Regions from separate parts of the Homo sapiens genome. Here regions 1, 2, 3, 5, 6 and 7 are each linked to region 4. Evidence: promoter capture Hi-C in 16 types of primary human blood cells and fetal thymus (Javierre and others, 2016). All regions are on one chromosome and are shown on one strand. Each heading gives the region's core, a stretch centred on a gene start or on the middle of the fragment in contact. The rest is flanking DNA. Distances are from core to core; before and after follow the strand shown.

Region 1 (3,322 bases), core at 129-2,628, 460 kb before region 4:
CCTCAAAATTAGTGGGGGTAATGTTAGGGAACCAGGAGCCTAGGAGGGCCAGAGTAGCACCATTTTAAGTTCAGCTCCATCTTGAGAAATAGTAAAGCCCATTCTCTGCTGGTCACGACCCACATTCATGGGCTGTTTACAGTGGAAGAAACAGCCTAAAGATACCTACAAGGACACACTCCTACTACAGCCAAGAGTCCAGATGTCCAATACCCATAACAATCTCTGTTTTCAAGATAATAATAGTTTTGCTTTGATGTATCCACACACTAGAATGTCAAGGCCAGTTTTCTTTAAATCAGTAGTCATACATTCTGTCATGCTGTCTGCTCACCCACACGTGGACACAGCTTAGCTTAGCCTTTATATAGACAAGATCTCTAGAGAAGAAAAACAAAAAACAAAGTCGAGGCGTTCCTCCTCTTGCTTTCTGAGGATGCCCTACTCTAACAGTGTAGTTTCTAATAACGTTGCTTCTTTCACTGCACTCTGTGACTCGTTTTGAAGTCCCTCCTGCTCGAGATCCAAGAACGTTCTCTTGGGGTCTGGATAGAGATCCCTTTTCCGGTAACACGATCATTGAAGGTATAGAGGTCCCGGACTGCTGGGAATATTTTATATTTCCTTTTGAAGACTCTCCATCCTGCCCTTATTTCTTAAAGCTGAGTTAATTCCATTGCACATAATTTATTTCTCCCTCCTGTATACATATCTTCCTTTTGTCCTCTTCTGTCGCTTTTAATACCGTGTGGAGGTGCAAAACCCCTTCTAGTAATGGCTGGGGAAAAAAAGTCATGTAAGTCCCAGGGTGAAATAAGACTTTCTAAAAAAAATACTTGAGTCTCAACCTCTAAAACCTTTCAAGTACCCCGATATTTCTTTTCATCTTGTCACAAATTTTTATATTCCTCTTCATCCTGTTAAAATCTCCCCTGTTTTTCTTAAATTACCACCTTTCAAGGTAAATAAAACGCTGCTGGTTCTCTTTTTATCAGTGTGCCATTTAATTTTCGGTTATTACAATAGAATGGTCTTAAATTTGTCTTTAAACTGAAAACATGCAACTCTCAAGTGATAACACGGCTTAGAGAACCTTTTGTTTGAGAGCCTGGAAACTAAGTGTCTCCATTACAATGTTTCCGACTCCCAAAATAACCAAGAGATGAGGTATCCTTGTGCCACCTTTATAAAACTCTTGGTTGTTACGTCTCATGCAGAGACACAATATTTGTTGATAGTTTAAATAATAATTATTATTAATATTAATAGAACATTTTCTATGTTCCAGGCCTTGCTTTAAGAAGTTTATAGGCATTGACTCATTTAATCCTCACCACAACCTATGAAGTAGGTACTTCTTGTTCTCTCATTTTTCAATTTTATTTTGTTTTGTACTTTTAGTAGAGATGGGGTGTCGCCATGTTGCCCAGGCTGGTCTCAAACTCTTGAGCTCAAGCAATACACCCACCTCGGCCTCCCAAAGTGCTGGGATTACAGGTGTGAGCCACCGTGCCCGGCCTTGTTCTCTCATCTTATAGACAAATTCACCGAAGCACAGAGAGGTTACGGCACTTAATCAAGCTCACAGAGCTAGTAAGTGGTGGAACAGATTGACTTTAGAGCCACTCTGTTCTGCCCTTTAACAGAATTCATTCTGTGACATATGGATTATTTTGAGTCTCATTAGGCATATTTTGAAACTACTCAGATTCATATTAAAACTCCATGAAGGTAGGACCGAAGTCTTATTCATTTTTGTTTCTCCCACAAATTTTTTTTTTTTTTTCTGAGATGGAGTCTCACTCTGTTGCCCAGGCTGGAGTGCAGTGGCGTGATCTCAGCTCACTGCAACCTCTGCCTCCCGGGTTCAAGCAATTCTCCTGCCTCAGCCTCCTGAGTAGCTGGGACTACAGGCACACACCACCACACAGGGCTAATTTTTGTTTTTCGTTTTTGTTTGTTTGAGACGGACTCTTGTTCTGTCACCCAGGCTGGAGTGCAGTGGTGCGATCTCAGCTCACTGTAAACTCTGCCTCCTGGGTTCAAGCGATTCTCCTGCCTCAGCCTCCCATGTAGCTGGGATTACAGGGGCATGCCACCACGCCCAGCTAATTTTTGTATTTTTAGTAGAGACAGGGTTTCACCATTTTGGCCAGCCTGGTCTTGAACTGCTGACCTCAAGTGATCCATCCACCTCGGCCTCCCAAAGTGCTGGGATTATAAGCGTGAGCCACCGCACCTGGACAATTTTTATATTTTTTCTAGTAGAGACGGAGTTTCATCATGTTGGCCAGGCTGGTTTCGAACTCCTGACCTCAAGTGATCCGCCTGCGTCGGCCTCCCAAAGTGCTGAGATTACAGGCATGAGACACCGCACCTGGCCCCCTAGCAGGTTCTTGATAGTTGCTGACAATGGAGCTAGCTGGGGATTCTTTCCTCCGATGGTCATTATGCATTATAGACAAGGTTCCTGTGTTCTCATTATGCCCCCAAGGAACATGCTTCAGCAAACGTGAAAAATGCCAGAGCCATACATTTTTTTTTTTTTTTTTTTGAGACAGGGTCTCCCTCTGTCACCCAGCCTGGAGTGCAGTGGCATGATCACAGCTCACTGCACATTCATCTGCCCAAGCCCAAGTGAGCCTCACACCTCAGCCCCCAAGTAGGTGGGATTACAGGTGCACTCCACCACACCCGGCTAATTTTTGTATTTTTTTGTAGAGTTGGGGTTTCGCTATGTTGCCCAGGCTAGCCTCAAACTCCTGGGCTCAAGCAATCCTCCCGCCTCGGCTTCCCAAACTGCTGAGATTATAGGCGTGCACCACCATGCCCAGCCCAGAGCCATACATGTTGGTTTAACCAAAAGAGCTGAAGGGTGGCTTGGAGCACTGGCATAAATGATGTCCCTTTAGCTGTCAGGGCTGACCGGGAGGGAAACAACCCTGCAACCCGTAATGGTCCTTGGCTTGATCAAAGAGCACCTTGTACTTGAGGTACCCTCTTTGTCCTGGTCCCATCCATTCACCAGCAGCCTTCACACATCTGTCCTAAAACCTTAGATTTTACCTATCTGTTGCTGCACATACAGCGGTGCCAGGGGACACTGTCGACCACGCCCGGTTAATTTTTTGTATTTTTAGTAGAGATGGGGTTTCATCATGTTGGCCAGGCTGTTCTCAAACTCCTGACCCCAGGTGATCCACCTCCTTCAGCCTCCCAAAGTGTTCGGATTACAGGCGTGAGACACCACGCCCGGGCTCAAATGTTCATCTCTTTCAGAAATACCCTCAGAGGAACACCCAGAGGAATGTTTGACTAACTG
Region 2 (3,506 bases), core at 38-2,537, 310 kb before region 4:
CCCCAGTTAGTGTTTCCATTATCAGCTAGAGGGTTAGTTAACATGTGGTAGAATGAGGATTTATGCAAGGTATAAATGCACATAGCATTTTACTACTATGAGAACAAGTGCAGTCAGAAGAAAACCAACTGGACTCTAAATTACACACACCTTAATGACAAGACTCCCCACCACTTGTGAATGTAAAACATTTAATTTGAAAATGTTGACACTACAATATATAAAATAGCTATTATAAATGCACATATTGTATTCTATAGCTGCCAGGTTTAATTTTTTTTTTTTAAAGGAAACTATAAGTTACACTGTGGTTAAGGTTTGTATCTTCACCCTTGAAAAAGCCTACATTCTATCACAGTGATGTATGGTCAGACTTAACAGCCCCAATTGTTAAACACTTGGATCAAGTCATAACCAGTTTTATTGCAAAAGGACCCTGTTGTACACATTTATCAATTCTAGTACCTTAATAGCTACCCAACAAGTCATTAACATACAGAAACATGCATCATGAGAAGCAAGAAATATCACGCATCCGTTTTGCATATTAACAACTTGTCACTCCTGAGCAACAGTGCTGACATCACTGAGGTCTGTAAACAGTCACTTTTCGCATTCATCCTGAGTGAAAGATGGAATGACTTAAGTACAAATGCAACATATAAACAATTTCTTACAAAAAAAGTCACCAATTAAACCAAAGTATTTTACAGAATTTACTACAAAATGCCATAAAAACTGCCTTCACTTAAGCTCTCTCTCCCCGTATCCGGCGAGCCAACTGGATGTCTTTGGGCATGATGGTGACTCTCTTAGCGTGGATGGCACACAGGTTAGTATCTTCCAACAGACCCACCAGGTACGCTTCGCTAGCCTCCTGCAGCGCACCGACGGCTGCGCTCTGAAACCTCAGGTCAGTGTTGAAATCCTGCGCGATCTCCCTCACCAACCTCTGGAAGGGCAGCTTCCGGATGAGCAGCTCGGTCGACTTCTGATAACGACGAATCTCTCGAAGCGCCACGGTCCCAGGCCTGTAGCGATGAGGCTTCACCCCGCAGGTAGAGGGGGTGCTTTTCCTGGCAGCTTTCGTGGCCAGCTGTTTGCGGGGGGCTTTCCCACCGGTGGATTTACGAGCAGTCTGCTTGGTTCGGGCCATTTTCTTTCACCCAACGCCGAAGTTTTAGGCCACTTCTCCGACCTCCGCGCTGCTTCCGCTGCCCGAGGAAGAGCCGCAGTCGCGAGCGAAGAACCGACACTGGTCCAACGAACGACCAAACCGCTCTGCGCCCTCCTCTCTTTTATCTGCATCCCTTCCATTCTTCAAAGCCCATTTCGGTGTTTCGTTTTTTGTTGTTGTTTTGTTTTTTGAGACGGAGTCTCGCTTTGTTGCCCAGGCTGGAGTGCAGTGGCGTGATTTCGGTTCACTACAACCTCCACCTCCCAGGTTCGAGCGATTCTCCTGCCTCAGCCTCCAGAGTAGCTGGGATTACAGGCGCCTGCCACCACACCTGGTTAATTTTTGTATTTTTAGTAGAGACGGAGTTTCACCATGTTGGCCAGGCTGGTCTCAAACTCCTGACCTCAGGTGATCCGCCCGCCGCAGCCTCCCAAATTACTGGGATTACAGGTGTGAGCCACTGCACCCGGCCTTTCAAAGCTCATTTCAATCCCACCTCCGTCACAAAGCATTCTTCAGCCACCTTCGTTTTCATCCTTTTTTTCTCTGCACTCTTTCTACCCTTATCATTTACTTGACACTATGCAAATTCTACATGTATATGTATTTCTCATTTATTTTTAGTAATTATCTTTTTTCTTATTATAAAAGTAATACTTGTCCAATTTAAAATACAAAAAATATAGAGAAACAAACTGAAATGTGGAATCACATGTGATAAACACACACACAAGTTGGCTGAATATCTGTTACTCTTGGAATGGGGAAAGAATCATCTAGTCATCTGCCAAGAGGTATAAACCTAAAGTTTAGAAACAGAAATCTGACTTTTAAATGTTACAGTTCTATATGATATTTGTTCCATGGAGTAAATCATAAAGTTTCTCTCTCTCTCTCTCTTTTTTTTTTTTTTTTTTGTTTTTTGGGAGATGGAGTTTCACTGTCCTCACCCAGGCTGGAGTGCAATGGCACGATCTCGTCTCGCTGAAACCTCCACCTCCCAGGTTCAAGCAATTCTCCTGTCTCAGCCTCCCAAGTAGCTGGGATTACAGGTGCCTGCCACCACACCTGGCTAATTTTTGTATTTTTAGTAGAGACGGGGGTTTTACCATTTTCGCCAGGCTGGTCTCGAACTCCTGACGTGAAGTGATCCACCCACTTCAGCCTCCCAAAGTGCTGGGATTACAGGAGTGAGCCACCGTGCCTGGCCACAAAGTATCTCTTTTGTCAGGTGAGTTTTTTAACTTCTAGAAATATGCCACAAAGTGAGCCAGGTGTGGTGGCTCCGCCTGTAATGGTAGCACTGGGAGGCCGAGGCAGGTGGATCACGAGGTCAGGAGTTTGAGACGAGCCTGGCCAACATGGCAAAACCTGTCTCTACTAAAAATACAAAAATTAGCCAAGCGTGGTGGCATACGCCTGTAGTCCCAGCTACTCGGGAGGCTGAGGCAGGAGACTTGCTTGAACCTAGGAGGCAAATGTTGCAATGAGCCCAGATTGCACTACTGCACTCCAGCCAGGGTAACAGAGTGAGACTTTGCCTCCAAAAATAAAAAAATAAAATAACGAAAAGCTATTGGATTGACCATTGATACTTTCCACATCTGAAGAAATCTACCTTATTTTCAAAAGGGCAAAAAAAGGAAGGGTTCCCCGCCCCAGGTTAAAATATAGTAAAATCTCTGAGTAATTCATAACAAATAAAGCACCTTCACACTACCATAAATCTCTACACTGTGTTCCAATCTGTTGAGTGCCTGAATCCAATGACAGCTTTGGACGTCCCCTTCCCCCATAATCTCTGTGCAGACCCTCAACCTCACCCCAGATGCCTTTGGAGTTTTCATTCTTTATTATAAGCAATTGATAGTTTCTCAGACTTTTATATACAGCGTAAAGAAAATCCGTACCCAGCCGGGCGGTGGCTCACGCCTGTAATCCCAGCACTTTGGGAGGCCGAGGCGGGCGGATCACGAGGTCAGGAGATGGAGACCATCCTGGCTAACACGGTGAAACGCCGTCTCTACTAAAAATACAAAAAAAAATAGGTGGGCATGGTAGCAGGCGCCTGTGGTCCCAGCTACTCGGGAGGCTGAGGCAGGAGAATGACGTGAACCCGGGAGGCGGAGCTTGCAGTGAGCGGAGATCGCGCCACTGCACTTCAGCCTGGGCGACTGAGCGAGACTCCTCCAAAAACAAAAACAAAAACAAACAAAAAAAAGAAAATCCGTACCCTTACTACTACACTAGGGGCACAAGGCGGGGAAGAGACTCAAACAATAAGAGCTACTACTGTTTGCTGAACACTTATGTACTGAGTACATTCCAT
Region 3 (3,233 bases), core at 459-2,958, 400 kb before region 4:
TAGGGAAAGAATTGCATTCCTGGGGGGAGGTCTATAAATGGCCACTCTGGGAGTGTCTGTCCTATGGGAGTGTCTGTCCTATGCGGTTGAGATAAGGACTGAGATACACCCTGGTCTCCTGCAGTACCCTCAGGCTTACTAGGATTGGGAAACCCCAGCCCTGGTAAATTTGAGGTCAGACTGGTTCTCTGCTCTCGAACCGTTTTCTGTTAAGATGTTTATCAAGACAATACGTGCACTGCTGAACATAGACCCTTATCAGGAGTTCTGATTTTGTCCTTGCCCTGTTTCCTCAGAAGCATGTGATCTTTGCTCTGCTTTTTGCCCTTTAAAGCATGTGACCTACTCCCTGTTCGTACATTCCTCCCCTTTTGAAATCCTTAATAAAAACTTGCTGGTTTTGTGGCTCAGGTGGGCATCACAGTCCTACCGATATGTGATGTCACCCCCGGCGGCCCAGCTGTAAAATTCCTCTCTTTGTACTCTTTCTCTTTATTTCTCAGACCAGCCGACACTTAGGAAAAATAGAAAGAACCTACATTGAAATATTGGGGGCAGGTTCCTCTGATAATTACATATGGACATTTTGGTTATCTGGAGGGAAAAAAACAAACCCTTATACTTTATAATATTCTAAAATGTGGGCCAGGCATGGTGGCTCACACCTGTAATCCCAGCATTTTGAGAGGCTGAGGCGGATGGATCACTTGAGCTCCGGAGTTCGAGACCAGCCTGGGCAACATGGTGAAACCCTGTCTCTACAAAAAATGCAAAAATTAGCCAGGCATGGTGGTGTACACCTATAGTCCCAACTACTCAGGAGGCTGAAGAGGGATCACCTAAGTCCAGGCAGCGGAGGTTGCAGTGAGCTGAGATTGCACCACTGTACTCCAGCCTGGGCAACGGAGCATGACCCTGTATAAAAAAAAAAAAATTAAAAATGATTACCAGTCTTACCATATACCATTGTTCCAAAAATCTAAAACCATATCTAAACAGAAAATATAATATGCTTGCTTTACAGTTATTCATACTCTTACCTCACTTATATTTGAATCTGTTATCTGTCCCTGCATACTCATTATTTTAATCAGTCTGTCTTTTATGTTGGGAGGCAAAGGCTTAATGTCTGTGAGATATCTGGAAATATTCTTCATGAAGCACCAAAGGCATCTGAAATACAAATACAATATAGTAAATCACACTGGGCCTGTACTGATTCCTAACACTTGTCTTAATGCTATTTGTTAGCACTTAGCCCTTTCATAAAAGTGTGTACATTTTGGCTGGGTGTGGTGGCTCACGCCTGTAATCCCAACACTTTGGGAAGCCCAGGCAGGAGGATGGCTTGAGCTCAGGAGTTTGAGACCAGCCTGAACAACATAGTGAAACCCTGTCTCTACAAAAAAAGAAAAAAAATACAAAAATTAGCTGAGCATGGTGATGTGAGCCTGTAGTCCCAGCTACTTGGGAGGCTGAGGTGGGAGGATCGCTTGGGCCCAGAAGGTCGAGACTGCAGTGAGCTGTGATTGTGCCACTACGCTCCAGCCTGGGCAACAGAGCAAGATCCTGTCTCAAAAAAAAGTATATACATTTTATATTAATACTATATTTACAACTTTAGCTCTGTAAGCTTCAAAAACCTAGTCTGTGTTAAATTACGGACAAGATGCTCTTCCTCTACAATTTTTTTCTATGCATACCTCATTTATCAAAATGCATTTTAAATGACCAACAAGAATGTTTTTCCTAAGTGTCTAATTTCTAAGACACATACTCCTAAATAAGCTTTATATTGGGACCCACTAATTGAAAAGTTTTATCTGTTAATCCAGCAAACTTGTTTTTACTATTTTTCTTGAAAACTATGTGGATAATGAAATCACTAGAGAAAGAACCATAACCACAAAGATTCAGCAAATATTACAAATCACAGAGATATCAAACTCAGTGCCAGGGTTGTATAGGCAGAAAGTAGAGTTATCAGGCAACAACCAAGAATCTTATGACCAACATATCTTATCTGTGTCCTGAAATTCCAACCATCTGAAAAACTCATACTTTAAAGAAACAAATACAAATCTTATTAATTTCTGTCTACAAATATCCCCATATATACAAAATTTTACATTCATGAGTGAATGTGATCATATACCTGTGATTAATTTTTTAGTGCAATGTTAATTTTTTCTTTTTCCTCTTTTGGTTTCCTACACAGTTTCCTCTCTTGTCCTTCCCCCTCCATTAGCTCTCTACACCAATGTAGCATATATTCTTTCTTATTTTTCTCTGTTCTTGTACACACACACACACACACACACACACACACACACATTTAAAGGCTTGTGTGGGGGAGGGGTCATTGTTTCCTAAAACGGCACCACAGTACACTTACTTTTATACACTGTCTTTCATTCAGTATCTTATGAAATCCCTTCAAGGCATCCGACACAGTACTGATTCTCCCTTAATGGTCACATCATATTTCACAGTACGGATGATCTATTTAGTGACTTGTATGCTGACAAGCATTACCACTATTTCTAGGATATGTTGTCAGATTATTTTTCAGAAAGTCTGGAAAACACTTCATATTTCTATTAGTAGTGTCAGAAAGCTCCTTTCCCTCTACATCCTTCCAGCAATAGATATCATGGCTAGTTTATTTATTTTTTGAGACAGAGTCTCACTCTGTCACCCAGGCTGGAGTGCAGTGGCATGATCTCAGCTCACTGCAACCTCTGCCTCCCAGGTTCAAGCAATTCTTCTGCCTCAGCCTCCCAAGTAGCTGAGACTATAGGCGTGTGCCACCATGCCTGGCTAATTTTTGTATTTTTAATAGAGATGGGGTTTCACCATATTGGCCAGGATGGTCCAAACTCCTCACTTGGGATTACAGGCATGAGCCACCGCACCCAGCCCTATTTATTTATTTTATATTTAATTTTAATTTTATTTATTCTTTCCATTTCTTTGTTATCTCCATTTCCCACTCCCATTCCCCACCCCTCTAGGAAACCATTCTCATGTTTAATGTGTATCCTTTCATTGTATATTTCCTTTTAACATGTTTATTGTATGCATGCATTTCTAATTTATAAACATGGGACTTGTCATAGATTTGTTTAGTTTTTCACTCAGCACTGTTTTCAAGATCACCTACTCTTAAATGTTGGAAGGCCTAACAGGTGAAAATGATGTCTCACTATTACTTTAACTTGTATTTCTCTAAT
Region 4 (3,366 bases), core at 760-3,259:
GGCTGGAATTTATGGTGGCTGCACATTTGGAATGTTTTCTCCTTTTATTTATTTATTTTTAGATCAGACAATCACAAGAGAATATTCTTTTGTTTTATTTTTAGATCAGACAATCACATGAGAATATTCTGTTGTGATCGCTGGCGTTTAGAAGGAAACTTGTCTGGTTTGTGAAGCAATGGAAAACACATCCAGACAGCCTGCTAGTGGAAACTTTGGAAGGGCACTGTCATATGCTTTTTCTCCCACGCCATCAACAAGTGTCCTTTTTTTTTTTTTTTTTTGAGATGGAGTCTCTGTTGCCTAGGCTGGAGTATAGTGGTGCCATCTGTACCCTCCACCTCCTGGATTCAAGCAATTCTCCTGCCTCAGCCTCCCAAGTAGCTGGGATCACAGGCGTGCACCACCATACCTGGCTAATTTTTGTATTTTTAGTAGAGATGGGATTTCACCATGTGGGCCAGGCTAGTCTTGAACTCCGGACCTCAAATGATCCATCCACTTCTGCCTCCCAAAGTGCTGGGATTATAGGCGTGAGCCACTGTGCCCGGTCAACAATCATCTTTTTTTTTTTTTTTTTTTTTTTTACCAGGTACACAATGATGGGAGAGTTGAGTCCTGCTTTCTAACTTAGAAAACGCATGTGTGTTCATCACCTGGTCACTGAGAAACAGCTCTGGAATAGGTGCCATGCAGAAGAAGAGAGGGAACTGGAAAGACCCACTGATCTGTGGGTCTCACAGCCTCCCGTTACACAGAAATTGCTTCTTTTCTCTCATGTTGCGTTCTTCCTCTTGATTCTCGACCCTTCTCCACTCTTTCATTTACTCCACTCTTACTTTGCTTTCACCTCCTTTTGTAACCGTTCATCATCACTCTTCATATGGATTAATGTGATTATCTTAAAAGCATGTAATATGTAGTTGCTGGGTTTGTATGAGTAATGAGTGAACCTGAAGCCAACATAATGATCCCGTTTAGTGCTCCCGAGTTAAGATTCCAGAGTTGCCTGACTTTGGACAAATCACATCTCCCTTTGCCTTTCACCCCCTGTAAACTGAGGATAATGGCTCTTACCTCAAAGCATTGTTAGGATTGGAGAGAACGCATGTTACATACTTAGAAGAATGCTTGGTATGGGTCTCAAGAACTCTTAGCTCTTATTGTTTAAAAAATGCTTATTACAGGGCATCGTTGGTATCTTATATAGGGAATTTCAAGCAGTTTTCCTTTATTGAAGACACAGAGTAAGGTGCTTTGATGGAAACTATTGGGGCAAGATATACAGTACCTAGCTAGAGGTTTCCTGGGTGCATGTATTGTGGAGATATTTTTTTTCTGAGTGGATAGCGCTCTTGTGATACGCTGGGTGAGGGCGAGCAATATTTAGCGGACTGTCCTGTGAGGATAGTAAGGTTATCTGGTGAGAGTGTTAGGTGGCCCAGGCCAGACTTGGGAGAGGCAGGGAGAGAGGGGGACGACGGAGGAGGGCGCCTTGGGGTGCGTCTTGAAAGCTTTGGGAAACCCAGCGGTCTTTTGGGGGCAGGTGGCCCAAAAAGCCTTCTGCGCGCCCAGGGGACGAGGAGGATGCGCGGACCGCGACCGCGATAGTTTTGTTTGCTTTTCTCGGGAGAAAGCGTTCCAGGCAGTTTCCTGAGCTTCGGCCCTCGACGTAGCAAAAGAGCCCGGGCGCCCACGCCGCTCTCGGGGTCTTCTACTGCCACCGGGACAAAGCCCTGGGAGGAGCTCCCGCCCCCGCGAGCCGGACAGGGCGGAGGCTCCCCCGCCGCGCGCGCCCCACCGCTTCCCAGTCCCAGACCCGTCGCCTGCGCCTCCTCCTGGCGCGCCTCACGGTGCAGCGGGCGGCGGCCCGCGCGCCCGGCGGGAGGCGCCTCGGGATGTTTCCGTCTGGTCCTTCCCTCCGCCCCCCGCGCTGACTCCATCCGCTCCCCGCCCCCTGCTCGGAGCCGCCGCCACGCGGGAAGGGAGGGAGCCGGCCCCGAGACTGCATCATTCCGCACCGGCTGCTGCAGGGCCAGAGGGAGCAGGTGGAGCGAGAGAGCGAGCCGCGAGCCGGAGCGCGCCAGACCCAGGGCGAGACTGCAGTGACGCGGCCCGGGAGACATGGCGGACGGGCGTCTCTGAATAAGCAGAATCCGGAGCCCCTCGCTACCCGCGGCCGCCGCAGCCCGGGCCATGCCGCACGGCTGCTGACCGCACGCAGGGGCCGGCCCCGAGGACACATGCGGCGGCCTTTGCCGCCTCGCCCCTGACCCTCTGCCCTGTTCTCCATGTTGCATTTCTCGTCAGTTTCTCGGGCGGTGTAGCTGCCGCTGCCACCAGAGCCGGCGGGGCATCGCGCTGCTCATTCATCCGGCCGCACTTTCTTTTCCGTTTCCACCCATCCCTTCCCATTTCCTTCTCCCTTTCCCCGCCAGCTTCGCATCCATCTCCCCCACCCCGTAACCCCCTCCTGCCTCCATCCACCGGGGCTATGGCCGCAGAAGAGGTATTGCAGACGGTGGACCATTATAAGACTGAGATAGAGAGGCTAACCAAGGAGCTCACGGAGACCACCCACGAGAAGATCCAGGCTGCCGAGTACGGGCTGGTGGTGCTGGAGGAGAAGCTGACCCTCAAACAGCAGTATGATGAACTGGAGGCTGAGTACGACAGCCTCAAACAGGAGCTGGAGCAGCTCAAAGAGGTGAGTTGCCTGTCACCTCTCCCTTTCCTGGCCCTCACTCCCCCCACCCGCAAGGCCCACTCATCATGATCAAGAAGTCATAAAGGAGGTGATTGAAAGGACTGTTTTTTCTTCTAGGGCCCTTTGTTGGTAAGAGAAGATTGAAAGAGTCCATTGTTTCCTCCCCCAAGAGAAAAATTGCCTAAGAAATGAATATATAAGCTGGAATTTGGGAGGCAATGGCTGTTTGGCCTGCGGGGGAGGGAGATTAGTAAGAGTCATCAAGTCTCAGCACTCTAAGACGACATTCAAGTGGGTTGGAATGTATAAATCAAACTTCTCAAAACCGCTGTTATCTCAAACCCAGGTTTCAGCGACAATTTCGTAGTCCACAAAAGTGATGAGGTTTGTGCCTGAGGACCCACAATTTCAGGATTTAGACTGTGTGGCACCTCAGCTTTCCTCTGGATGTAACCACTCCTTGGTGAGAGAGGGAACTCCTCACCAATCCCATTTGACAAAGGCTAGGCAATCTTCATTCTGCTTGGCTTTAGTCATTCTTGTCATTGGGCTGCAGAAGAAAAACAACTTTGCTGGGTGATCCCACTGCCTTGATTTCACCTCGGAGCGAGGCTGGGCCATGTCCAAGTCTTATGAGGTCACCCTGACTAGAAAAAATT
Region 5 (3,156 bases), core at 275-2,774, 420 kb before region 4:
TTAAAAGAATGATTGATATGGTTTGACTGTGTCGCCACCCAAATCTCATCTTGAATTGTAGCTCCCACAATTCCCATGTGTCGTGAGAGGGACCCGGTGGGAGGTAATTGAATCATGGGGGCAAGTCTTTCCTGTGCTGTTCTTATGATAGTAAATAAGTCTCATGAGATCTGATGGTTTTAAAAGGGGAAACCCCTTCTCTTGGCTCTCATTCTCTCTTGCCTGCCACCCTGTAAGACGTGCCTTTCGCCTTCAGCCATGATTGTGAGGCTTCCCCAGCCACGTGGAACTGTGAGTCCATTAAACCTCTTTTTCTTTATAAGTTACCCAGTCTTGGGTATGTCTGTATCAGCAGTGTGAAAACGGACTAATACAATGACTACAGTGTAAGGTTATTCTTATTTGAGTACTTGGCAGACTATTTCATGAAAATAGAAGAAATGAGGCTGTCATTTCAAAGAAAACAAATGACAGAATTTGTTGTCAGTGATAAAGCTTTAGCTTTCAAGTGAATTTTGGAAGCCTCGTAGCTGCCACTGTGATCTTGAAAGCTATCCAGGACCTTTCTAATGACATCAGTTATTATGTTAACAACTGATTTTTGTTTTGGATAATAAAATGTGTCAATATTTAAAAGATCTATATAACTCAGAGAACCAATATTTTCCGAACTGCCAATGCATGATGTTACAAAATCATGCATTGGTAAAGATCAACTCAAAATTCAAGACAGACTAGTGCATCATAACACAAATGTATGAAAAGTGCATCATAACAAAATGTACGCAAAGTTCATTGATATGTTTTCAAGTTCCACATTGCAACAACCCATAAGAAATTACCACTTGCTGAGTTTTGGGGTATCAAAGAAGAGTATCCACAATGATCTGAAAAGTGATGATCTGAATGAAAATATATCTCTTTTCTAGGTAATAGATTTACGATTTTTAAAAAATGAATGTCTATTAAAATTTATCTGTTTTAATAGAAATTTTAATTTAACAAATATACATAAACAAAAACTCTTTGGGGATCCTCAGTGATTTTTTTTTTTTTTTTGAGATGGAGTCTCACTCTATTGCCCAGGCTGGAGTGCCGTTGTGCGATCTTGGCTCACTGCAAGCTCGGCCTCCCAAGTTCATGCCATTCTCCTGCCTCAGCCTCCTGAATAGCTGGGACTACAGGCGCCCGCCACCATGCCCGGCTAATTTTTTTGTATTTTTAGTACGGACAGGGTTTCACCGTGTTAGCCAGGATGATCTCGATCTCCTGACCTTGTGATCCACCTGCCTTGGCCTCGCAAAGTGCTGGGATTACCGGCGTGAGCCACCGCGCCCGGCCTGGGATCCTCAATAATTTTTAAGAATGTAAATGGGTCCTGGGGTCTATTTGAAAAATACTACCAGAAAGTATTATTTCAATTACTGAAACCTACAAATGGTTAAGTGTTTTCTCATCACCAACATAAAAATACGAAGGTAAAACCAATAGAATTGCTCTGAAACATACGGGGAATACAAAATCTAAGATGCTTCTTAAGTGAGTTACATTTATATCACATATCTTTTAGATTTTTATAAATTTTGTTTTCCATAATTATTATTTTTTTTTTTTTGAGATAGAGTCCTGCCCACTCTTGCCCAGGCTGGAGTGCAGTGCGGAGATCTTGGCTCACTGTAACCTCTGCCTTCCAGGTTCAAGCTATTCTCCTGCCTCAGCCTCCCAAGTAGCTGGGATTACAGGCACCCAGCCCCACACTCAACTAATTTTTGTATTTTTAGTAGACACAGGGTTTCACCATGTTGGCCAGGTTGGTCTTGAACTCCTGACCTCAAGTGGTCTGCCCACCTCAGCCTCCCAAAGTGTTGGGATTACAGGCGTGAGCCACTTCGCCTGGCCTATAATGGTATTTTAATTTGTATGTTGAACAAAGATGGCTCTTAAGGTTCAACATTAACAGCAATTCTACTTTTGTCTCCCTTGGTCCCTCCAAAGCTGTCCATTGAAGGATCATTCTTCCCACACTCTTAAATGAAAATTTAGTTAATACCATGACTTTCACATTTTTTCCACTATAGAACGCTCAAACAGCTGGGCGTGGTAGCTCACGCTTGTAATCCCAGAACTTTGGGAGGCCAAGGCGGGCAGATCACCTGAGGTCAGGAGTTCGACAACAGCCTGGCCAACATGGTGAAACACCATTTCTACTAAAAATACAAAAATTAGCCAGACCTGGTGGCGGGCGTCTGTAATCCCAGCTACTTGGGAGGCTGAGGCAGGAGAATCACTTGAACCTGGGAGGCGGAGGTTGCAGTGAGTCAAGATTGCACCACTGCACTCCAGCCTGGGCGACAGAGCAAGACTCATTATCAAAAAAAAAAGAAAGAAAGAAAGAAAAAAGGAATGCTCAACCGCATTTGTTATTATTTTTTTTTTTTTGGAAACGGAGTTTCACTCTTGTTGCCCAAGCTGGAGTGCAATGACGTGATCTCAGCTCATTGCAATCATTTAGTGTGATTAAGCTCATTGCACTCATTAATCATTTAGTGTCATTAAGCTTTCCTGGTGTCTGAAATCACATCAACTAGGCATTTATCTTAAATCCATGATCTGTTAACATATCTTTGGTTACTAGTGATCTCCATAATGACATAATTTATCTCAAAAGACTCCTTGGTTTGAAAATCTGATTAACCACTCCAGTATATTTTCCAGACTTGAAAACTGGTATTTAGGCCAGGCATGGTGATTCATGCCTGTAATCCCAGCACTTTGGGAGACTGAGCCAGGTGGATCACCTGAGGTCAGGAGTTCAAGACCAGCCTGGCCAACATGGTGAAACCCTGTCTCTACTAAAATACAAAAATTAGCTGGGTAGGGTGGTGCAAGCCTGTAATCCCAGCTACTTGGGAGGCTGAGGCAGGAGAAGCACTTGAACCCAGGAGGTGGAGGTTGCAGTGAGCCAAGATCATGCCTCTGCACTCCAGCCTGGGTGACAGAGTGAGATTCTGCCTCAAAAAAAGAAAAAAGAAAATTGGTATTTATTGCTTCTCTCTACAGATGCTTCTCAATTTATGATGGGGTTACACCCTGACAAACTCATAAGTCGAAAATACACAAAGTCGAAAATGTGTTCAATATACCTAACTTACTGAA
Region 6 (3,395 bases), core at 836-3,335, 370 kb before region 4:
CATCAATTAGAATGTAAGTTCCTTGAAATCAGGGACTTTTCTTTTGTTTGCCACTGTGCCTGAAACACTTTAAACAGTACATGATACCTAGTGAATAACCAATAATTACTAATTGAAAATGAATGAATGAACAAAGCTTTGATTTGTCTCTTTCCAATCTCTACCTCCTTGCCTCTAATCCTTCAATGAGTTTCTGGGCTCAGTCTTCAAAATGTACTCAAATTTGACCACTGCTGAACATCTGTGGGGCTGTCAACTGAGTGCACGCCCAGGCTGAAAGTGTTGTCTGACTCTCCTGTTCACCTGGTAAACTCCTCACTCCTCTTCCCATTTGTTCATTGATTCCACATTTATCGAGGTACACGCAGGGTGCTAGGCGTGAACTCACAGTCTGGTGGGGGAGGTAGGAGAGGAACACTGATAGAGATCATTACTGCATAAGAAATGGGGAAGCAGTGGCTCACGCCTGTAATCCCAGCACTTTGGGAGACCAAGGGGGGTGAATCATTTGAGCTCAGAAGTTCCAGACCAGCCTGGCCAACATGGAGAAACCCCATCTCTACTAAAAATACAAAAATTAGCTGGGTGTGGTGGTATGCGCCTGTAATCCCAGCTACTTGGGAGGCTGAGGCAGGAGAATTGCTGGAACCCTGGAGGTGGAGGTTGCAGTGAGCCGAGATCGTGCCATTGCACTCTAGCCTGGACGATAGAACGAGACTCTGTCTCAAAAATAAATAAATAAATAAGGAAAAAAAAGAAATGGGGAATGCAGAGGTGGGTGTGGTGGTCTGGGCAGGTGAAGACCTGCAGCCCTCACTCCAATTGCACAGAAGACTAGGCCAGAGACAAGGAGTCACTCCTCTCTGCTCTGTGCTGGGGTGGAGATGGGGGTTGGGATTAGGGTGGTGGGGGGTTCTTTTGTGTATATGAGGAGAAGCCAGGCAAACCCTTGCATCTGTTCTTCCCCTCAAATGATATTTTAAAAAACAAACAAGCCCAGTCCAGAGTGAGTACACCTTGTCCTGCCTCTTTTCTCATGTGTTTAGGTGGGAGTGACCTTCTGGCCCCATTTGACAGTAGAGAACCTGAGATTAGGCAAGGAGAAGCCATTTCCCCAGGCTTGCCACAAACTAAGGCCGCAAACAGACTGTGTACCATTCGCTCAGGAGCAATTCGTATTGCAGCTCATGAGCACCCAGTCCAGAGCCACCTCCAGAACAGGAGCTCAACCCTCTTTTTGAGAGCTTCTCTGAGGGGCCCTCCTATTAAAAATGGGGAAACTGAGGCCCGGAGAAAGGAAGTGACTTGCAAGGAGTAACAGAGCAGTCAGAGAGACCTGCCCCAGGAGTTCTAATTCTAATCACCATAACAGCTATTATTTATTGAGCCCTTCCTGTGTGCTGAATCTTGTTCCAAGCCTTTACAAATAGTGTCTTGTTCCATCCCCCAGTGATTCTATGGCTATATACTAAAAGCCCACAGTCCTTTATCTGCAATTTGGAAGCCCAAAAAACTCTGAAGCCAAAAGGATTTTCCTGTATTTGCTGCCCAGACTCTTCTGTGTGAAGAGTGGATAAATGTGGAATCAATTAATGAATGGGAAGAGGAGTGAGGAGTTGAACAGGTGAACAGGAGAGTGAAGCTATTTAAATTATATATTTTTTTGGTTTGTTTGTTTAATTGTTTGTTTCTTTGTTGAGATGGAGTCTTGCTCTGTCACCCAGGCTGGAGTGCAGTGGCACGATCTCGGCTCACTGCAACCTTCGCCTCCCGGGTTCAAGTGATTCTCCTGCCTCAGCCTCCCGAGTAGCTGGGATTATAGGCGCCCACCATCATGCCCAGCTAATTTTTGTATTTTTAGTAGAGACGGGGTTTCACCATGTTGGCCAGGCTGGTCTCGAATTCCTGATCTCAGGTGATCCGCCCACCCCGGCCTCCCAAAGTGCTGGGATTACAGGCGTGAGCCACCACGCCCAGCCTATTTATATTTTTTAATAATAATTTTTATTGATAAATTTTAAAAATTAGGGGGAAAAGGTGTGAATAGCCATACCCTTATTAGCGTTTCATTGTTTTGTAACAATACACATTTACCAAGTAGCAGGAGTCTGAGCATGGCTTGACTGGGTCCTCTGCTTATGGTCTCAAAAGGCTACAATCGAGCTGTCATCAGGGACTGCAGTCTCACCTGGGTTCAGATGGGGAAGGACTCACTTCCAAGTTCACTCATGTTAATGGCAGAATTCAGTTCCTTGAGGTCGTAGGACTGAGAGCTTCAAGTTTTTTGTTGGCTGTTGGCTGGAGGCTGCCCTCAGCTCTGAGAGGCTGCCTGTATTTCTTGCCATGCAGAGTCCTCTAACATGGCCATCTGCGCCCTCAAAGCTAAACTGGGGGAGGGGGAGAAAGATGGGTGCTACCATCTTATGTAACATGACCCCAATCATGTACACACAATCACATACATCCCATCATCTTTACTGTTTCTTTCAGTTAGAAGCGAGCCACAGATCCTGCCCACACTAAGGGGAAAGGATCACATAAGGGGAGGCAAGGATCGTGGGGCCAACTAAGAGTCTTTCCACCACAAACCACAAAGCCTTCCACTGCAAATATTATTGTGTTTGGTTATGTCCTAGAAAAAAATAAGGTTTTAATCTCACATGAAAAGTCAGAATGCCAGACTGGGCAATATGGGAAAACCTCATCTCTTCCAAATATATATATATATATATCCAGCTGTGGTGGCACATGCCTGTAGTCCCAGCTACTTAGGACGCTGAGGTGAGTGGATCGCTTGAGCCTGGGGGGGGTCAAAGCTGCAATGAGCCAAGACTGTGCCACTGCACTCCAGTGGACAACAGAGTGAGACACTGTCTCAAAAAAAAAAAAAAAAAAAAAAAGAGAGAGAAAAGGAAGGAAGGAGAAGGAAGAGAGGAAGAGAGGAAGCGGGGGAGGGAGGGAGGTCAGAATAAGAGGAGGGAGGTCAGAATAGGATAGTTCCAGGGTTGGTTGTTCAGTGGCTTAATGACATTATAATTCCTGCTCAGAACCTCTGTGATTCCCTTGAGTTTTCCTCTCATGCTTTCAAGATGGCTCTGCAGGTCCAAGCAATACATCCTTGCACTGAGGATGCAAGTTAGGAAAATTCTAGTTCATTGCTTTACTTTGAGCCTCTTATTTGACTTATTCCATTTTACTTGTGAAATACGCATGTGACAGCTGGAATTGGCATTAGACATGTTAGACAGAAAGTAAAATTGAGTATATTTCTGATTCTCAAGCATTTGTTTTTGCCACTGTTTAAGAAATAAGCAATGCATTGTCACATACTAAGCACTCAGTTGTTTGTTGAATGAAATATAACACTGTAGGGTAGGGTAGGAGAACACTAAAGT
Region 7 (3,301 bases), core at 458-2,957, 440 kb before region 4:
ATTAAATGCATACAGTATTTTTAAAGGAAAAAACCTGAATCTTGATTGCATTGTTTTATGATACAACAATCTTTAATGAAATAGAGTAGTCAATATAATTTGTATTAATATATCTCTGCCCACAGACAATTATAAATTCATTAACCCCCAGAACTCTTGGCTAGACTTCATAAAGGCAAAAACTGTGTTTGCCCTGTTAACTGCTTTATCCCACCACTAGAATATAAGCTTCCTGAAGACAGAAGACTTCTGTTATTTTGTTCACAGTTACCAAGCATGCCTACTTTGTTAAATTTATGAAAGAACTTTAAAGGTACAGTTGGCCCACAATATAACAATATAGCAATATAAAATTACAACAATAAAAATAACACAAAAATAGTGTAACAACTACTTATATAGCATTTACGTTGTATTAAGTATTATGAGTCATCCAGAGATGATTTAAAGTAAAGTATACCACAGCATATGCCTAGTTTATATACAAATATGATGCCATTTTATATAAGGGACTTGAGTATCCTCTGATTGTGGTATCCTGGAAGCAGGGGATACCGGAACCAATCACTTGAGGATACTGAAGGATGACTGTATGGCTGATTTCCTGTAAGAGGCATTTTCTTGAGGATTCTTTCAAAATCAAATGCTTGTATATTTGTTGTGTTAAATTACTAAAAGGATTCTCTTGTGAAAAGTATCATTTAAAAAGATTGGATTTTCCCAATTGATGCACCAAAGCTTTCATCTGAAATGAACTTGCACATGTGAATCATCAGATACAGTAATATACACTGTAATATTTTATTTCTTTTTTTTTTTTATGAGACGGAGTTTTGCTCTTGTTGCCCAGGCTGGAATGCAATGGTGCGATCTCGGCACACTGCAACCTCCGCCTCCCGGGTTCAAGCAATTCTCAAGTAGTGAGATTACAGGTACCCGCCACCACGCCTGGCTAATTTTTTGTATTTTTAGTAGAGACAGGGTTTCACCATGATGGCCACACTGGTCTTGAACACCTGACCTCGTGATCCACCCGCCTTGGCCTCCCAAAGTGCAGGGATTACAGGCGTGAGCCACCGCGCCCGGCCAATATTTTCTTATTATGTAATAGGATCTAGAAATGTTGCTCTTCCTCAGAATTCTCAGTATTACTTTTCTTTTTTTTTTCAGAGTCAGAGGTTCCGGTTGAGATCAAGTTGGGAGACACACCCTTGTTCATTCTCCTTGAGAAGCAGCTATTATCAACAGAACATTGACAGAACCTGTGTTTGGGGAAAGGACTGATGGCTTTGAGTCTAGGTTGGAAAGCACACAGGAACCACTGTGGTCTCCTCTTGCAGGCTCTGCGAAGCAGTGGTCTTCTCTTGTTTCCCTGTGGCCAGTGTCCCTGGAGAGGAGCTGGAAGCTTTTTGGACCCTGAGATAAAGGCTTTCCTGGAGGAGAACACTGAAGTCACCAGCAGTGGTAGCCTCACCCCTGAAATCCAGTTGCGGCTTTTGACCCCCAGATGCAAATTCTGGTGGGAGAGAGCTGACCTGTGGCCCCACAGTGATCCTTACTGGGCAATCTACTGGCCAGGAGGCCAAGCCCTGTCTAGGTACTACCCTAATGAAACCTTTAAGGCGCTACAGATCTTTGCTGTTTTCAGTTCCCTCCAACCTCTACAAAAAACCAGAGCAATGCTAGGCGTGGTGGCTCATGCCTGTAGTCTCAGTACTTTGGGAGGCTGAGGCTGTAAGCTGTGATCCTGCCACTGCACTCTCGCCTGGCCTGTCTCAAAAACAAAACAGAAACCGGCAAAACTCAGTCTTGTTGTTTTCTTTTTTCTTTCTTTCTTTTTTTTTTTTTTTTTTGGTAGAGACAGGATCTTGCTATGTTGTCCAGGCTGGTCTTAAACATCTGGCCTCCTCAACCTCCCCAAGTGCTGGTATTACAGACATGAGCCTCTGAGCCTAGCCTCAGGTTAGCCATATTTTTTGTTGCCTTGTTGCGTAATTTCCCATTCTAACCCAAGCTTATCAAGCTATTTTCCCAAGTAACTGTCTCCCCAAGAGAAATCCTAGAGTCAGCTGTCAAGACCCTGGATAGCTATAAGTGATCCAGAAATCTCACCTGTTAGGAGGTTCATAGTTCATAGCGCATGACCATTGCAGAGTTCCTAGATGGAAGCTAAACACCCAGTCCTTTCGCTCTCCTTTAATTCAGTGAATGTCGCTCCATAAACCTCACATTCCTTCCAGAGTTGCTTATTTTCCCATAAAACAGGAGCTGTGAGTGAGTGGGCTGTTCAAAGTTTCCCTCTTCTGTTGGGTGCAGTGCCTGTAATCCCAGTGCTTTAGGAAGCCAGTGCAGGAGGACAGCTTGAAGTCAAGAGTTTGAGACCAGCGTAGGCAACATAGTGATACCCCTATCTCTACAAAAAAAAATTTTTTTTTTTTTTGAGACAGAGTCTCACTCTGTCACCCAGGCTGGAGTGCAGTGGTGTGATCTCGGCTCACTGCAAGCCCCGCCTCCCGGGTTCACGCCATTCTCCTGCCTCACCCTCCTGAGTAGCTGGGACTACAGGCTCATGCCACCATGCCCGGCTAATTTTTGTATTTTTAGTAGAGATGGGGTTTCACCATGTTGATCAGGCTGGTCTCGAACTTCTGACCTCGTGATCCGCCCTCCTCGGCCTCCCAAAGTGCTGGGATTACAGGCGTGAGCCACCGCGCCTGGCTTAATTTTGTATTTTTAGTAGAGACAGGGTTTCACCATGTTGACCAGGCTGGTCTCGAACCCCTGACCTCAAGTGATCCGCCAGCCTCGGCCTCCCAAAGTGCTGGGATTACAGGCATGAGCCATCGTGCCTGGCAGTAGCAGCTATTTAGACAGGGCATGTATGCCTCTACTTTGCCATAGTGTTAACTGGTTGATGTCAAGTCCCAGGTTCTTAGTGCCATCAACAAAGAATTGGACATGACACATACAAGTAGCAAGGCAGCAAACAGTTTGTTAAGCAGAATGCAATCAGCAACGGATCAGGCTGACCTGCGAGTGGTATCAGCCCCAGTTTGTTATAGTTCATGGCCTTTTATATGTTTTTTCCTCACTTGCTTAACCTTACTTTGTTTTTCGTAAGTGAATTGCTCATCCTGGCCTTTCCCTCATTGTGCCTAAACCGCACTTTATTTCTCATAAGCTAATTGTGCATCCTTGCTTAACCTTATTTTATCTTTTCTGACAAAATTGCTCATCTTTACTTTTAGTTCTTGTAACCAAATTGCTACTGCAACCCCTTTCCACTTATTTTCCTTATCTT

Evidence for each region. The method cuts DNA at HindIII sites, captures the fragments that hold promoters and counts their contacts. A CHiCAGO score of 5 or more calls a contact.
Region 1: a fragment that was not itself captured here is called in contact with the fragment with the promoter of BICD1 in region 4 in 4 of 17 cell types (activated CD4 T cells, neutrophils, fetal thymus and 1 more); the score reaches 8.2 in activated CD4 T cells.
Region 2: a contact is called between the fragment with the promoter of H3-5 here and the fragment with the promoter of BICD1 in region 4, in 5 of 17 cell types (total B cells, activated CD4 T cells, naive CD8 T cells and 2 more). The highest score is 7.1, in total B cells.
Region 3: a contact is called between a fragment that was not itself captured here and the fragment with the promoter of BICD1 in region 4, in 10 of 17 cell types (non-activated CD4 T cells, total CD4 T cells, naive CD4 T cells and 7 more). The highest score is 10.0, in non-activated CD4 T cells.
Region 5: a contact is called between a fragment that was not itself captured here and the fragment with the promoter of BICD1 in region 4, in 10 of 17 cell types (non-activated CD4 T cells, total CD4 T cells, naive CD8 T cells and 7 more). The highest score is 8.8, in non-activated CD4 T cells.
Region 6: a contact is called between a fragment that was not itself captured here and the fragment with the promoter of BICD1 in region 4, in 1 of 17 cell types (total CD4 T cells). The highest score is 5.3, in total CD4 T cells.
Region 7: a fragment that was not itself captured here is called in contact with the fragment with the promoter of BICD1 in region 4 in 6 of 17 cell types (activated CD4 T cells, non-activated CD4 T cells, total B cells and 3 more); the score reaches 7.9 in activated CD4 T cells.

Annotation. Positions count from the first base shown.
Region 1 is chr12:31,641,478-31,644,799 of GRCh38, forward strand. The region is part of intron 1 of LOC124902913 (a long non-coding RNA gene); the gene reads right to left. Among named protein-coding and RNA genes, the nearest start is that of ETFBKMT, 17 kb to the right of the region's middle. The HindIII fragment of the contact is 8,322 bases long and covers 1-3,322 here.
Region 2 is chr12:31,791,011-31,794,516 of GRCh38, forward strand. H3-5 (H3.5 histone) reads right to left here and starts at 1,288. Exons shown (of 1, transcript NM_001013699.3): 1 at 175-1,288. The coding sequence starts at 1,156. The coding sequence ends at 749. The HindIII fragment of the contact is 13,966 bases long and covers 1-3,506 here.
Region 3 is chr12:31,708,253-31,711,485 of GRCh38, forward strand. AMN1 (antagonist of mitotic exit network 1 homolog) reads right to left here. Exons shown (of 7, transcript NM_001113402.2): 2 at 1,041-1,173. Among named protein-coding and RNA genes, the nearest start is that of AMN1, 19 kb to the right of the region's middle. The HindIII fragment of the contact is 155 bases long and covers 1,632-1,786 here.
Region 4 is chr12:32,104,838-32,108,203 of GRCh38, forward strand. BICD1 (BICD cargo adaptor 1) reads left to right here and starts at 2,010. Exons shown (of 10, transcript NM_001714.4): 1 at 2,010-2,707. The coding sequence starts at 2,495. BICD1-AS1 (BICD1 antisense RNA 1) reads right to left here and starts at 2,625. Exons shown (of 3, transcript NR_185992.1): 1 at 2,557-2,625. RefSeq lists a silencer at 1,533-2,012 and enhancers at 2,373-2,452, 2,980-3,366. The HindIII fragment of the contact is 11,162 bases long and covers 1,513-3,366 here.
Region 5 is chr12:31,683,430-31,686,585 of GRCh38, forward strand. All of the region lies in intron 6 of AMN1 (antagonist of mitotic exit network 1 homolog), which reads right to left. Among named protein-coding and RNA genes, the nearest start is that of ETFBKMT, 25 kb to the left of the region's middle. The HindIII fragment of the contact is 2,062 bases long and covers 494-2,555 here.
Region 6 is chr12:31,738,323-31,741,717 of GRCh38, forward strand. No RefSeq gene overlaps it. Among named protein-coding and RNA genes, the nearest start is that of AMN1-AS1, 11 kb to the left of the region's middle. The HindIII fragment of the contact is 3,903 bases long and covers 135-3,395 here.
Region 7 is chr12:31,660,671-31,663,971 of GRCh38, forward strand. It overlaps ETFBKMT (electron transfer flavoprotein subunit beta lysine methyltransferase), which reads left to right. Exons shown (of 4, transcript NM_001135863.2): 2 at 1,171-1,597. The coding sequence starts at 1,284. Among named protein-coding and RNA genes, the nearest start is that of ETFBKMT, 2.6 kb to the left of the region's middle. RefSeq lists an enhancer at 1,413-1,532. The HindIII fragment of the contact is 609 bases long and covers 1,404-2,012 here.